2 separate regions of the Homo sapiens genome follow, and region 1 is linked to region 2. The links are contacts of gene promoters, found by promoter capture Hi-C in human tissues and cell types (Jung and others, 2019). All regions are on one chromosome and are shown on one strand. Each heading gives the region's core, a stretch centred on a gene start or on the middle of the fragment in contact. The rest is flanking DNA. Distances are from core to core; before and after follow the strand shown.

Region 1 (6,661 bases), core at 426-2,925, 33 kb before region 2:
CCTGACCTTGTAACCAAAATTTAACCAAGCTTCCAAAGCTTCTCCCAGGCCCATCTGTGCACTCCCTTGTAAAATCCAGTTTTGGCAAAACCCCCTGCTACGTCGGTTTAGCAAGAACGACCCCATCTCGATATCTGATCACCCTTGATATCCGATCAGGTGCCTTATCCTTCACCAACCACCAGGGTATGTCCGATCACCCTGGCTTGTCTTCAGTAAGAATCTTGTTAGCTGCATTCAGCCAGAATCTCCTTTAGCCCTGATGTTTCTTTTTAGTATATTCACTGACCCCCACCCTGCTCCTGGGCTATACATTCCCTCTTGCCCATGTTGTATTTGGAGTTGAGCCCAATCTCTCTCCCCTACTGCAAAATCCTATCCACCTGTTGTGATGGTCCTAAACAAAGTCTTTCTTACCATGCTTTCTACCTTCAAATATACTTTTTTCTTTCACAACATAGATGTTTAGAGTCCTGAACACTGATTATAAAAAGTTTTAACTCCATTTCTTAACCCAATTTACATAAATAATTGTTCATTCATTCATGTATTCATTCATTCAGTGAGTTGAGTACTTATTTCGAGCCAGGCATGAGTGACACAAAACATCAAATATAGACCCCAGTCAAATTTTTAAAAAAGTTAAAAACTACTACCTGCTCTGAAGTGGGGGGTTTGCAGATATAAAAGATATAAAAGCCAGTAATGTAGGAGGAAGGGACACCTGAGCTGGGATGACTGTGTAGAGCCTTTCCAGGCTCTCAATGGCTATGCAGAGGCCTTAAGTAGGAGACTCCAGGACAGGGGCACAGGAGGAGGTCTTAGAGACAGGCAGGGGCCAGACCATGCAGGATGGAGTGGGCCACAGCTCAACAGGGTCCAGGAAGTTCTCGAGAGGAGAAGCAGAGGATGTGCGCATGCAAGATCTCTGGCTACTGCAGTGGGTGGGTGGTGGGTAGTGGGAATGGGAGGCTGAATGAGCCCAGCTGACTGCGGGACAGGTGTTGGCAAACTTCTCTTGGAAGGGGCCAGGCTGTAAATATTTTAGGTATGTGGGCCAAGAGGCAAAAATCTAGAATATAATGTATATACTTATATAACAAAAGAGAAAAGAAACTTCCACAAAATATTTATTGACAGAACTCAGAACATAGTAATAATAATTGAGTAAAATTTTTAAAATTCAAGCCTACTAGTGAGAAGAATGGAATTCTTTGAGGAATAACATTTTGCTTAATTGGTGTTCTGCTGCTGTAGCATAAAAACAGTCATAGACAAATTGCATGAGTGTGGCTGTGCTCCAATAACACTATTTATGGATTGAAACATGAATTTCGTATACTTTTCATGTGTCACAAAATATTACTTTTCTTTTAATTTTTTTCCAGCCATTTGAAAATGTAAAAACCAGTTTTAGCTGGAGGACGATAAAAAACAGGTGGTGAGCTGGCTGTGGCTCAGGGGTCCTGGTTTGCCAGCCTCTGTTGCAGAAGGTCCCACATTCTGCATGTGTCTGATTGCTTGCTCATGAGGTCATTCATTCCGGGCAGATTACCACAGGGTGACGCTCTGTGCGCCTCCTTGTATCCAGCAGAGGCTTGTGATAGGAGGTCATTCCATTACACGTGACGGTAAGTTTGATCCATTTTAAAGAGACACTTTCCCCTTTGCAGTAAGAAGCATCTGTGGGTGATACTTCTGACCCTGAGAACATCTTTTTCCCCCACAACCTTTCACCCAGTGGTTTTAGCTTTCATAGATGATTCTTGTCTGAATCAATCACGACATTGGAAGTTACAAATTAATTTGGATATGATTTTTTTCTCTTTTAACCTTTTAAATTGTCCAGTGCCACAAATAGAAAAGCACATAAAATAATTTTGTACAGTTTAACGTATTTCTATAAAGTGATACTGTATGTCATCGCCACCTGTGTCAAGAATTAGAGTCTTGCCAGCACTCTAGAAGCACCCAGGGCCTTTCTGATCCTGAGTCCCCCACTCTCCTCCCAAAGGGTGCCATCTCCTGATTTTATGGTTATCCCTTTCTTGCTTTTCCTCATAATTTTACCAGCTTGTCTTGCATTCCTAAACACTGTAGTTTATTTTTTTCTGTTTTGGAGCTTTATATACATGGGATCATACAGCATGTATTCTTTTGTCACGTGGCTATTCCTCCACATTGTTGCATGTATTGTTGATTCATTTTCACTGCTGTATAATACTTTAGAGCATGACCATAACACACATTTTATCAATCCATTCTGCCATTGATGGACATAGGGGGTTGTTTCCAGTTTTGTGCTATTCATGCTGCTACAAATGTTCTTAACATGTCTTTTGGGTCATGCAGGCACATACTTCTCTTGGATATCTACCTAGGATGCACATGTTTAACTGTGGTAGGTGCTGTCAAACGGTTTTCCAAAGGGTTTATATCAATTTACACTCCCACCAGCAGTGTATGAGAGTTTCCATCACTCCACATCCTTGCCAACATTTGTCATTTTCTTCTTTTTAATTCTGATATGATTTTAATGGCTGCTTCATATACCATTTAGAGGATATATAATAAATTATTGAATCTGCTGTCATAAAAAATGTGGGTTGTTTTTTGTTTCTTTCTTTTTGGTTATTATTACAAGTAATACTTTCATTAATCTCCTATAGCTATATATTTCTGTATATCTATGATTAGTTACTTAAATAAAAATTACTTGAAGTGAAGCCATGTCAAGAAAATTACTTGAAGTGAAACTAGGTCCATTTTTTACTGACAAATTGTATCTTAGGGCATTTCACTAAGTTTTGCTCCCACCAAGAGTTATAAGTGCCTAGTTCCTAATACTCCAGCCAACATTTAAAAAGTATCTCACTAGGCTGGGCGCAGTGGCTCACGCCTGTAATCCCAGCACTTTGGGAGGCTGAGGCAGGTGGATCACAAAGTCAGGAGATCAAGACCATCCTGGCTAACACAGTGAAACCCCGTCTCTACTAAAAATAGAGAAAATTAGCCGGGCGTGGTGGCGGGCACCTGTAGTTCCAGCTACTCGGGAGGCTGAGGCAGGAGAATGGTGTGAACCTGGGAGGAGGAGCTTGCAGTGAGCCGAGATAGTGCCACTGCACTCTAGCCTGGGCGAAAAAGCAAGACTCCGTCTCAATAACTAAATAACTAACTAACTAAATAAATAAATAAATAAAAATATCTCACTAAACTGATAGATAAAAATGGTTTCTCATTATTTTAATTTGTTCTTATTAAACTGTAGTGAGGTTAAAATATTTGCATTTCTTCAATCTAATCATATCCTGTGCCCATCTTTGTATTCATCATTTCCATAGTAATCTGTAAGAGCTCTTTATATGCTAAAGACGTTAATTATTTGCCTTTAATATGTATTGTAAGTGTACACATTATTTTTCTACATAAATGTAGAAAATATGTTTTAAGAAAATATTAAAATTTACATGATTATTTTACTCCTAAATTGACCTGTTCTTCAGAAAGAGAAAGAGAGAGAGAAATGAAGGAGAGAATTCAAAAAATTTAACCAAATGTACAATTATTTTTATTATGCATTTAAGCATCTTTAAAGAAGAAATTCCCTAATAAAATATTAAATGTTATTGTCAACATTATCAAATTCTCTTCTGATTTTTGCTATTTATTACATATATTAAGTAGTTGATTTCATTATGCACAAAATGTGTTTTTCATTTGTTTGTTTGTTTGTTTTTTTGAGACGGAGTCTCACTCTGTTGCCCAGGCTGGAGTGCAGTGGCGTGGTCTCGGCTCACCGCAAGCTCCGCCTCCTGGGTTCACACCATTCTCCTGCCTCAGCCTCCCGAGTAGCTGGGACTACAGGCGCCCACCACCATGCCCAGCTAATTTTTTTGTATTTTTAGTAGAGACGGGGTTTCACCGTGTTAGCCAGGGTGGTCTCCATCTCCTGACCTCGTGATCCACTTGCCTCAGCCTCCCAAAGTGCTGGGATTACAGGTGTGAGCCACCATGCCCGGCCAAAATGTGTGTTGTTTCCAATCCATCATTTTATATCTACTTTTCCATATCAGCATAGATGTAAGTTGTTTTTGTTTTTGTTTTGAGACAGAGTCTCACTCTGTCACCCAGGCTGGAGTGCAGTGGTGCGATGTTGGCTCACTGCAACCTCCGCCTCCTGGGTTCAAGTAATTCTCCCTGCCACAGCCTCCTGAGTAGCTGGGATTACAGGCACCTGCCACCATGCCTGACTAATTTTTGTATTTTTTAGTAGAGATGGGGTTTAGCCATGTTAGCCAGGCTGGTCTTGAATTCCTGACCTCAGGTGATCTGCCCACCTCGGCCTCCCAAAGTGCTGGGATAACAGGTGTGAGCCACTGTGCCCCGCCAGATGTAAGTTTTAATTACCACCACTGCATAATGCAATTTTTAATTAACAGTATGACATAACACATTTCATTTAGTTCTCGTAAGCCATTTAAGATCTATTTTTTCGCTAGAATAAATAGCATTGTTGGACATATCCTTGCATAAATTCTTTTTGGTATTTTTAGGGTTAAATTCTTAAATCAGTCTCAAAAATAAAACTACCTGATTACCAGGGGAAAACTATGATACATACACATTTACTGTTTTCTTACAGAGAACACTCCAGAAAGACCTGTTCAACTTTTACTGAGTCCTAGACATTTGTCTGTCACCAGCAATGTTTAAAAAGGATTATTTTCTCAAACCTCCAATAACATGGATTTTGTTCAGTTTATTTATTCTGGCTAAATTTATGGGTACGTCAGTATTTGCAGTTATTCTAAGTTGTACTTCTTCAGTGCTTGCAAGATCCATATGATAGTTTCATGTGTGTTTACTTACAAACCATCACTTTGTGGCAATGACCTTGAATTTGACTTTGGGTCAAATTCAGCAGTGAAACTTCAATACCTATTCCTATTCTTTGTTTATATTGGTTAGAAAGCTCTCAAACGTAATTTATACTATGTGCTTTCTTTCTACTGTCTTGCAGGGCAAGAGCCAAGTTCCAGGCAGGTCTAAGCCCTTGGCACCTCAGATAGGGTCAGTGTCCAAACGAATGTCACGTGGGGTGACATCTCAGGCATACTCTCACCCTCACCAGGGCCTGTGGTCATGCAGCAGGGGCCGCAGGCTCTCCCTTCATAGCCAACACTCCTCAGGGCCATGTCATCTGCACATCTGAGGGAGGGTTGCATCCGGTGGGGAGGATGGCAGGGAGGTTCTGTTCCTGGCTTCTGCTGACTTGGCTCACACCATCTCTAAGCAGCCCTGTCTCTGTGTGCCATACCGTCATCTCGTTCATTTTCCACGGAAAACAGAAGCTGCGGAGCGGATGCGAGACGCCCCTCACTGAAGTGGTGTGAGGAATGGAAAATGAGTGTGAGAAGTGCTCCTGGTTTTCTTCAGAGGAAAAGTTTGCCATAAGCAGTAAGCACTAGCATTTTTCTGAAACCGTGTGTGCGGTGGTGATTTTTGCCCCACAAGGGGACATCTGGCAATATATAGGGCCATTTTTTTACTGCCACAATTGGGGGGTGCTACTGGCATCTAGTGGGTAGATGCCAGGGATGTTGCTAAACATCCTACAATGCATAGGACAGCCCAAACAACACAAATGATCTCACCCCAAATGTCAGTGGTGCCAAGGCTGAGAATCCCTGTTCCAAAACAAAATGACCACCCTCAGTGGCCCACTTCTAGACACAAACCAAACTATGAAACCAAGAGAGAACATTCAGCAACACGAACTGAAATAGCCTCGATTCAGTCTTGTGTAGATAGGGAAACTTCATGTAAGGATTTTATATCTCGTTGTGGCATTTCCTATTACACTAGGGGACTGAAGCTCAATCTCTCATTATCACCATCCAAATTCCACACTGGAACTTGACTTCACAAGGCCTCATTGGCCGTGCACTTTGGCATGGCCCATTGCGTGAGGTTTCCAGTGAGACAGAAAGTCACTCAGACTCGCGAGCCTGTACCAAGCAGCAGGAATGAGAAGAGAAATGAGGTAGACATCAGTAGACCAATGAGGTGGAGGTGGAAGCTGCCGAAGAATGGGGGAGAGAAATGGCTGAGCCAGGCTGGTTTGGAATCAGACTCTAAAGCTGCCAGATCCAGCCACCTAAGATGCCACCTGCCACAGGGAAGCTAGGCAGTGCTACTTCTGAACATTTAAAACCTTCTGCTCAAGTGTATTCAAGCAGTTTATGCTCCACAGTAAACCAATCAGAAAAAAAGGTCTTACCGGGGGTGCTGATGGTGGGGGAGGGGGAGGAGCCCCCAGAGGCGGGGGAGGTGGAGGCAGAGGAGGTGGGGGTGGCGGTGGCACTGGCATGTGTCACGGTGTTGATGTCTCCTGCTTATGAATGGTCCCAAGAGAGTGGCTTCTGCTCTGAAAAAGAGAAAAAGAATGGATTTAAACTTGGATTTCTTTACTTACATGCAGGAAATGTGTATCTTGCAGACATGCATATTATAGTCAGCTTGATTCTTTCACCTGTTCATTCATTCACTCATTTGTTCATTCATTTATTCACAGAGTGCCCACTCTGAGGCAAGCTTTGTGCTAAGTGCTGGAGATTGACAAAAGCAGCCAGATTCTAGAGATAATAGGTGTTAAAACTGA
Region 2 (6,312 bases), core at 83-2,582:
TTCTAAATCACACTGGTCATGCCAAACAAGGCCCTCATTTACAGCCAAGGACCCCAGGCACAGAGGCGAAGAGACAGCCTAACTTCCTGCTACAGAGTAACTTTCCTCCCCAATACAGCCAGTTACAAAGCGCCCTGAGTGTCAGGGATTGGCCACACTGTCCCAGGGCGCATGGAACCGCTCTCCTGGCCTTTCCCTGCAGAAACTTCTTTCCAGAGGGAGGCGCACACACGGTCCCCACGCCGCCCCGGCGCCCGCCACGGGCACACCCACGCGGCTGGCACGCCACCCTCCAAAGGCGCTGTTCCTGAGAGCCGGTGCCTGCCTGCCCACGGGGCCCGGGCGGCGCTCCTCCAGGTCCAGGGCGGCCGGGTGCCCGCCCTCCCCGCCACCTTCAGAGAGTGCGTGTCAGGGGCTGGGGGAAATCTGCTCTGCCACCTACCTACCCACCACCTAATCCTCCAAAGGACCCTAAACCCATTTGTGGCCAAATGTACATTGCTGGAGCACAGTCTGACTACTGACCCCAGGGGCTTGGAGATGAGCACGGGAGGGGTGTCCAGAGACCTGCGCTCTGTCCCCATGAGCTGTGTGACCTTGGACAAGTCACTTCACATCTCTGGAGTTGGCTTCCTCACTAGGGGGCTCCTTCTGTATTCCCCAAGCCACCTCCGGCTCTGCAATTTCCTAGCTCTCTTTTACTCCGCCCCAGCCCTTCCCGCGACAGCCCCCTCCCCAGCGAGACCCCAGCCTTTTGTTCCGGGGGCGAAGCGGAGAAGAGAGAGCGTCGCGAAGGACCAGGCCGAGGCGGCCTCGGTGCCAGGGGCTGCTCACCGGGGAGTCCAGTCCGGAGAAGTCACCAAGCAACCCCGTGGTGACCTCGCTCCCCACCCCGCGGTTTGTTTCCGCCCGGCCCGGCCCGGCCCGGCCGGGGCGGCGTGGCAGGGTGCGGGTGGGGGGCGTGAGCGCCGCGCGGCACGTCGACAACCTCCTGGGCCCGGGGCTGCAGCCCGGCGGGGGTTCCCCGGCCCTCCCACGCCCTCAGGATCTCTGTCCCGGGCCGGGCCACTCTGCTCCGGGACCGACCAGGGCGGCGGCCGCCACACCGCCCGTTCCTTCCACCCTCGGGCACCGACCCGCACCCGCGCGGGAAGCCGCTACCTGCAGGTGGCGGAGCCGGGGGCTGGACTGGACTCGAGCTCCGGCCGACGTCTCCGCCGCCGCCGCCTCCGGCTCCGGGCTCCGTCCCGCAGCGCCCGTGCTCCAAGCGGCGCCGCTACCGCCGAGCTGCGCTCGGTGCGCCCGGCTCGCTCCCCGGCCACCGGCTCTGGTGCTGCCGGGACGCGGAGGCGGGGCCGCCGCCCCCACCTGCTCGCAGGCTCCTGCCTGGGAGCCGCCGCCGCCCCGCGGCAGGGACACGGCCCCGGCGGGCGGGGTCGCTCTGGGACCCTGGAGGCGGGTCCCAAGTCGGCGGGCGCGCCTCCCGGGTACAGAGTCCCAAGTCTCAGCTGCGGAGAGACTGAGGCCTAAGGCTGGAATTCCCCAAATAGGAGCTGTTGCGCGGGCGGCACACGGCCCAGCACAGCTACTCTGGGGACACGCCACTCCTTGAATTTATTCCAAAATGTTGAGCCCTTACTAAGCTCCAGGCGGTGTCATAAGCGATGGGGACGAGAGAACAAGATTACCTCTTGCCCTCGTGGAGTTCACAGTCTAGAAAAGGAAAGCGACCAATGGGCGATTACAGCACAACCAAGAGGAGGCAGAGGCCTCCTGAGCCGGCTCCCAGAGGGAGCACCTGATCTAAACTTGGGGTGGGGAGTAGGTCAGGGAGGGCTTCTTGAGGAGCTGACGTCGACGAGAAAAACTGAAGACTGAGTGTGAATTAGCCAGGTGATGAGAGAATTATCCGGGTAGCCTGGGGAGGTAGATTGATGTCCCAGGTAGAGTCGAAGGGAGGAGAAAGCAGACTGAAAACTGAAATAGGGCCGGGCGCGGTGGCTCAAGCCTGGAATCCAAGGACTTTGGGAGGCCGAGGTGGACGGATCACTTGAGGTCAGGAGTTACTAGCCTGGCCAACATGGTGAAGCCCTGTCTCTACCAAAAAATACAAAAGTTAGCCGGGTGTGGTGGCGCTCTCTAGTCCTAGCTACTCGGGAGGCTGAGGTGGAAGGATCTCTTGAACCCAGGAGGCAAAAGTTGCAATGAACCACTGCACTCCAGCCTGGGCGATAGAGTGAGACCCTGTCTCAAAAAACCAAACCAAACCAAACAAAGAAACAAACAAAAACAAACCTGAAATAAGCTTGAAGAACGGAAAACCTTGCTTCTGTCACATTTCTTGTTCAGGCCCTTGGAGGATGCAGAAAGTTTGTGTCCGAGGCTGAATGCATTGCTGTAGGTGCTGAGATCATTGGGTGAGGATTCTGTATTGCCCATGTCCTGGGCATTCCTGCTAGTGGAGGAGCTAAGCGGGTACTCGTGGACTGTTCACTCAGCCTCGGTGTTTGAGTATCTGCCATGAGCCAGACACTCTGCAGGGCCTCAGGGCAAGGTGTCTAACTCTAAAGTTGCTGCTGGTCTGGAATAGAGGAGAAACCTGGCGCTCAGCGCTGTGCTGAGGCTTGTGTGAAATGTTGGGGACCCAGGTGAGGGAGCAGCCAATGCCAGCAGGGAAGATCTCACACGTGGATTGCAGCCTGTATTCAGGTTCAAGTTCTGTAGTGGCTGCTGTCAAAGTATGTTCCCCAAGCAGCCCTTAGCTGATCTCTTAATTACTCATGTTTGTAGCTGGGCAATGTGTCGAAAGCAAGGATTAATAATACACTTTTGATGTCTTTCACTCCAGTGTCGTCAAGAACATGGTTTTCTCTTTTGATTTAGGTGACGAAAGGTCTATGTGTAGTGAGTGGAAGCTGATGAGGCACTTGCTTTCCACCTGTTTGTCCTGAGTTCCTCTTGCCCTTTCCTCCTTTAGAATCATAATAGATGACCACAGGTATGGAACCTGAAGAACAGTTCTCCAACATAAAATTCATAAGCCCTCTTACATGGGTGATTGTTACTAAAACAAAAACAAAACCCAAAACCCCAAAACATGACCCAGCCACTCTCCTTCTCTGGACCTCCAGTGCTAAAGCTCACTAAATACATAACCACTAGTATTCTAATTCAAAAAGGAAGAAAAGTCAAACTATTAGAGAAGACATTGCCATGGGCCTAGAGAGTTCCCATCAGATCTCCTGAGCAGCCCAAGCATGAGCCAGTTGGATGGAAAGCCTGTTATTTATCTCAAGAGATGCTGGATTGGATCAAAGAATTTGTTTTTTAAAATGCCTGGTTGTAGGGATGGGGAGGTGGTGAGTGAGGAATCAATTTGGACATTTGGGGCTGAAAGCTTCAAGAGGCATTCCATTCAGGTGATCAGTGTTTTCTATCCATGTGAAGTAACAATACCATTAGCATCTTGTTCCTACGGACATTAGGGAGGGATTCATTTCCACCTAGCTCCACTAAGACAAATTGACTTCAAGAAGGCACTAGCTCTTCCTAGTAGATGGTACTTGTTCAGTGGCAGACACTGTGAATTGTCTTCCCAATTATCAGTCTATTCTCCACTTCTTCCTTAGTGACAGAACCCAGGATTATGATTGATCCAAGACGACCATGACAATCCCCTTCCTGATTTCCCAGTCTTTCTTACAGCTAAGGAAGTCATTGACCCAGTTCTAGCCAATGAGTTGAAAGAAGGGTCTGGTGGGGGAGCCTCTGAAAAATTTTTTCTGGTTCTGTCTTTCCTTTTCCCTCTTTTCTTTTTTCTTTTTTTTTTTTTAGACAGAGTTTTGCTCTTGCTGCCCAGGCTGGAGTACAATGGCACCATCTTGGCCCGCTGCAACCTCCGCCTACGGGGTTCAAGAGATTCTCCTGCCTCAGCCTCCTGAGTAGCTGGGATTACAGGCGCTTGCCACCATGCCCAGGTAATTTTTGTATTTTTAGTAGAGGCGGGGTTTCACCATGTTGGCCAGGCTGGTCTCGAACTCCTGACCTCAGGTGATCTGCCCACCTTGGCTTCCCAAAGTGTTGGGATTATAGGCGTGAGCCACCGCGCCCAGCCCATTTCCCACTTTCTTTATGATTTGAATGCAAATGAAATGCCTAGTAATGCTACAACCAGATTGCAATCAAGAGCCAAAGACTGTGAGGCCAAAAGGTCAATATAATTGGGACAACACACTGGGAAATAGAGTCAGTGTGGTATCACTGCGCACTTGAGCCAAAGTGTGCAACTGTCCACCTCTGGATGGACTATATCCTATGTGAGAAAAATAACCCATGTTTGTTTCAGCCTCTGAGAATTCGTTTTCTAATTTTGCAGCCAAATGTATTCCTAACTTATACTATGACCTGGTAAAGAGCAAAAACCTCCTCTTTTCTTCTCTTCACTCACCAAGTGTCTGCAATAGCTCACCTTTCACACCTTCCACTTGCAAACATATATTTATATCTGTTCTGTAACTTCTTGAGCTCTTCAGGAGAAAGGCACTCCAGAAATATTAAGTGTTTTGTACACATGTGCTCACTTCAATCTCTCAAATATGTACAGATCAGCTATTTTCTGGTGATACTGCACTGGTGCTAGGGGTGCAAAGATGAATTCACAGCCCTGCCCCCCAGGAAGCCAACAGCTTAGTAGAGAACACAGCTTGTGAAGAGAATATTGCAATTTTGGGTAGGAGAGGAGCTTGTGCTGTAGAGAGAGCTGATACAGGAGAAGAAATGATGAACTATCTGTAGAAAAGGAGGGAGCCTGCAAGACCTGAGTTGGGCATCCATTAATGAATGGAGTTTCTCCTGTCAGAAAGTGGGGAAGGGAGGGCATTTCAGGGAAAAGAAAGTCTGAAAGAGCTTGGTGGTTTAGGAGCCTCAAATGCTACAGGTCTGGAACCACACTTCAGGTCTTCCTTCCAAACCTGACCCACTCTGTTGCCCATCCCCCAATGCCCCCCACCCCCCGCCATCTAGTTGGACCACCCAGAAATTTTGTAAAGCTACTTTTCCCCCATCAACCCTCCTTGAGGTTGAGCCTGTTGAATCTGTCCAATTTTGCCCATCTGTACCACCAGCTGAGACTAGAGCCCATCATCACCTCTCTCCAGGACTTTCCCAGGAACCTGTTAGCTTTTCCCTCTGTAATCATATGCCACTTCTCTCTTCTAAAGCATTCTCCCCAGTGTGGCCGGGGAGAGCGTCTTGAAACCCAAAGCTGATCTTATCAATTCACATTATCTGTAGTTCAATGAATTCTCATTGCTCTGATGATAAAACCAAGATCCCGAGCTTTGTCTGAAGGCCCTCATGACCTGGCCTGACCCACTCTCCAACGCACCTTTCTCAGTCCTCCCCTCCATCTCTGTCCTCCAGCCATGTTGCCCTGCTTTCAGATCCTTTGACAGCAATATTCCTTCGTGTCACAGGCTTTTTGAATGTGCTCTTCCCTCTTTGTGAAGAAGACCCCAAGTGTCAACTCCTCTCCATCTTTCAGATCTCAACTAAACCTTGCCACAACTTATCTGAATCTCAGCTAGGTCACCCTCTTCTATAAGCTCTCAAAACCTCATGTACCTTTCTTTTGTGCATTTATTACAGTTGTATGATGACAATATCTGTTTAATGATGTAACATTTGTCCTCCAGGCTAGACTGTGGTATTCATGACCTCAGGAACCATCTCTGTCACCTTTGTATCCTTATCTCACAGCACAGAGGCTAGCACATAGTAGGTACTCAATACACATTTGTTGAGTTCTGAAAGAAATGAATAAATTAGGGTTGGGGACTGGAGCTACATATCTGAGGGTTTGTAACGTTTCTCAAAAAAAGTTTATATCAACTTTACTAAGGGATAATGTCATACAATAAAACGCACTCCTTTTAAGTGAACAGTTTAATGAATGCTGACAAATGTTTACTCTGATATAACCACCACCTTTATCAAGGTATAGACTATTCCATCTCCAAGAAAGTTATCTTATCCCCCTTTGCAGTCAGTCCCTATGCCCAGCCCCATGCAACTGAAATGAGAGAGCTCCCTGACCCCCTTGTGGGATGTGAGGCAGGGGTGTGGCTCATTTGTTTGGCCACTGCACACTCAAACTTCTTATGGGATGGGGAGCAGATGGGCAGGTGCAGGAGCCAGGGCAAGTGCTTTTGGGCTCTGGGCCCATAGTAGCATCTAGGGGTGGATGCCTGTGACTCCTAAAGCCCCAGTGGGCATATTACAGTGCTCTTTTAGCTCTGCTGTCTGCAGATGGCC

What was found. Contacts are between HindIII fragments. The study calls those that stand out against the background at their distance.
Region 1: a contact is called between a fragment that was not itself captured here and the fragment with the promoter of WIPF3 in region 2, in 1 of the 25 tissues and cell types used here (ovary).

What each region holds. Positions count from the first base shown.
Region 1 is chr7:29,834,434-29,841,094 of GRCh38, reverse strand. WIPF3 (WAS/WASL interacting protein family member 3) reads right to left here. Exons shown (of 9, transcript NM_001080529.3): 2 at 6,281-6,427. The coding sequence starts at 6,370. Among named protein-coding and RNA genes, the nearest start is that of WIPF3, 31 kb to the right of the region's middle. The HindIII fragment of the contact is 3,282 bases long and covers 35-3,316 here.
Region 2 is chr7:29,801,528-29,807,839 of GRCh38, reverse strand. WIPF3 (WAS/WASL interacting protein family member 3) reads right to left here and starts at 1,332. Exons shown (of 9, transcript NM_001080529.3): 1 at 1,162-1,332. RefSeq lists an enhancer at 687-1,596. The HindIII fragment of the contact is 12,406 bases long and covers 1-2,851 here.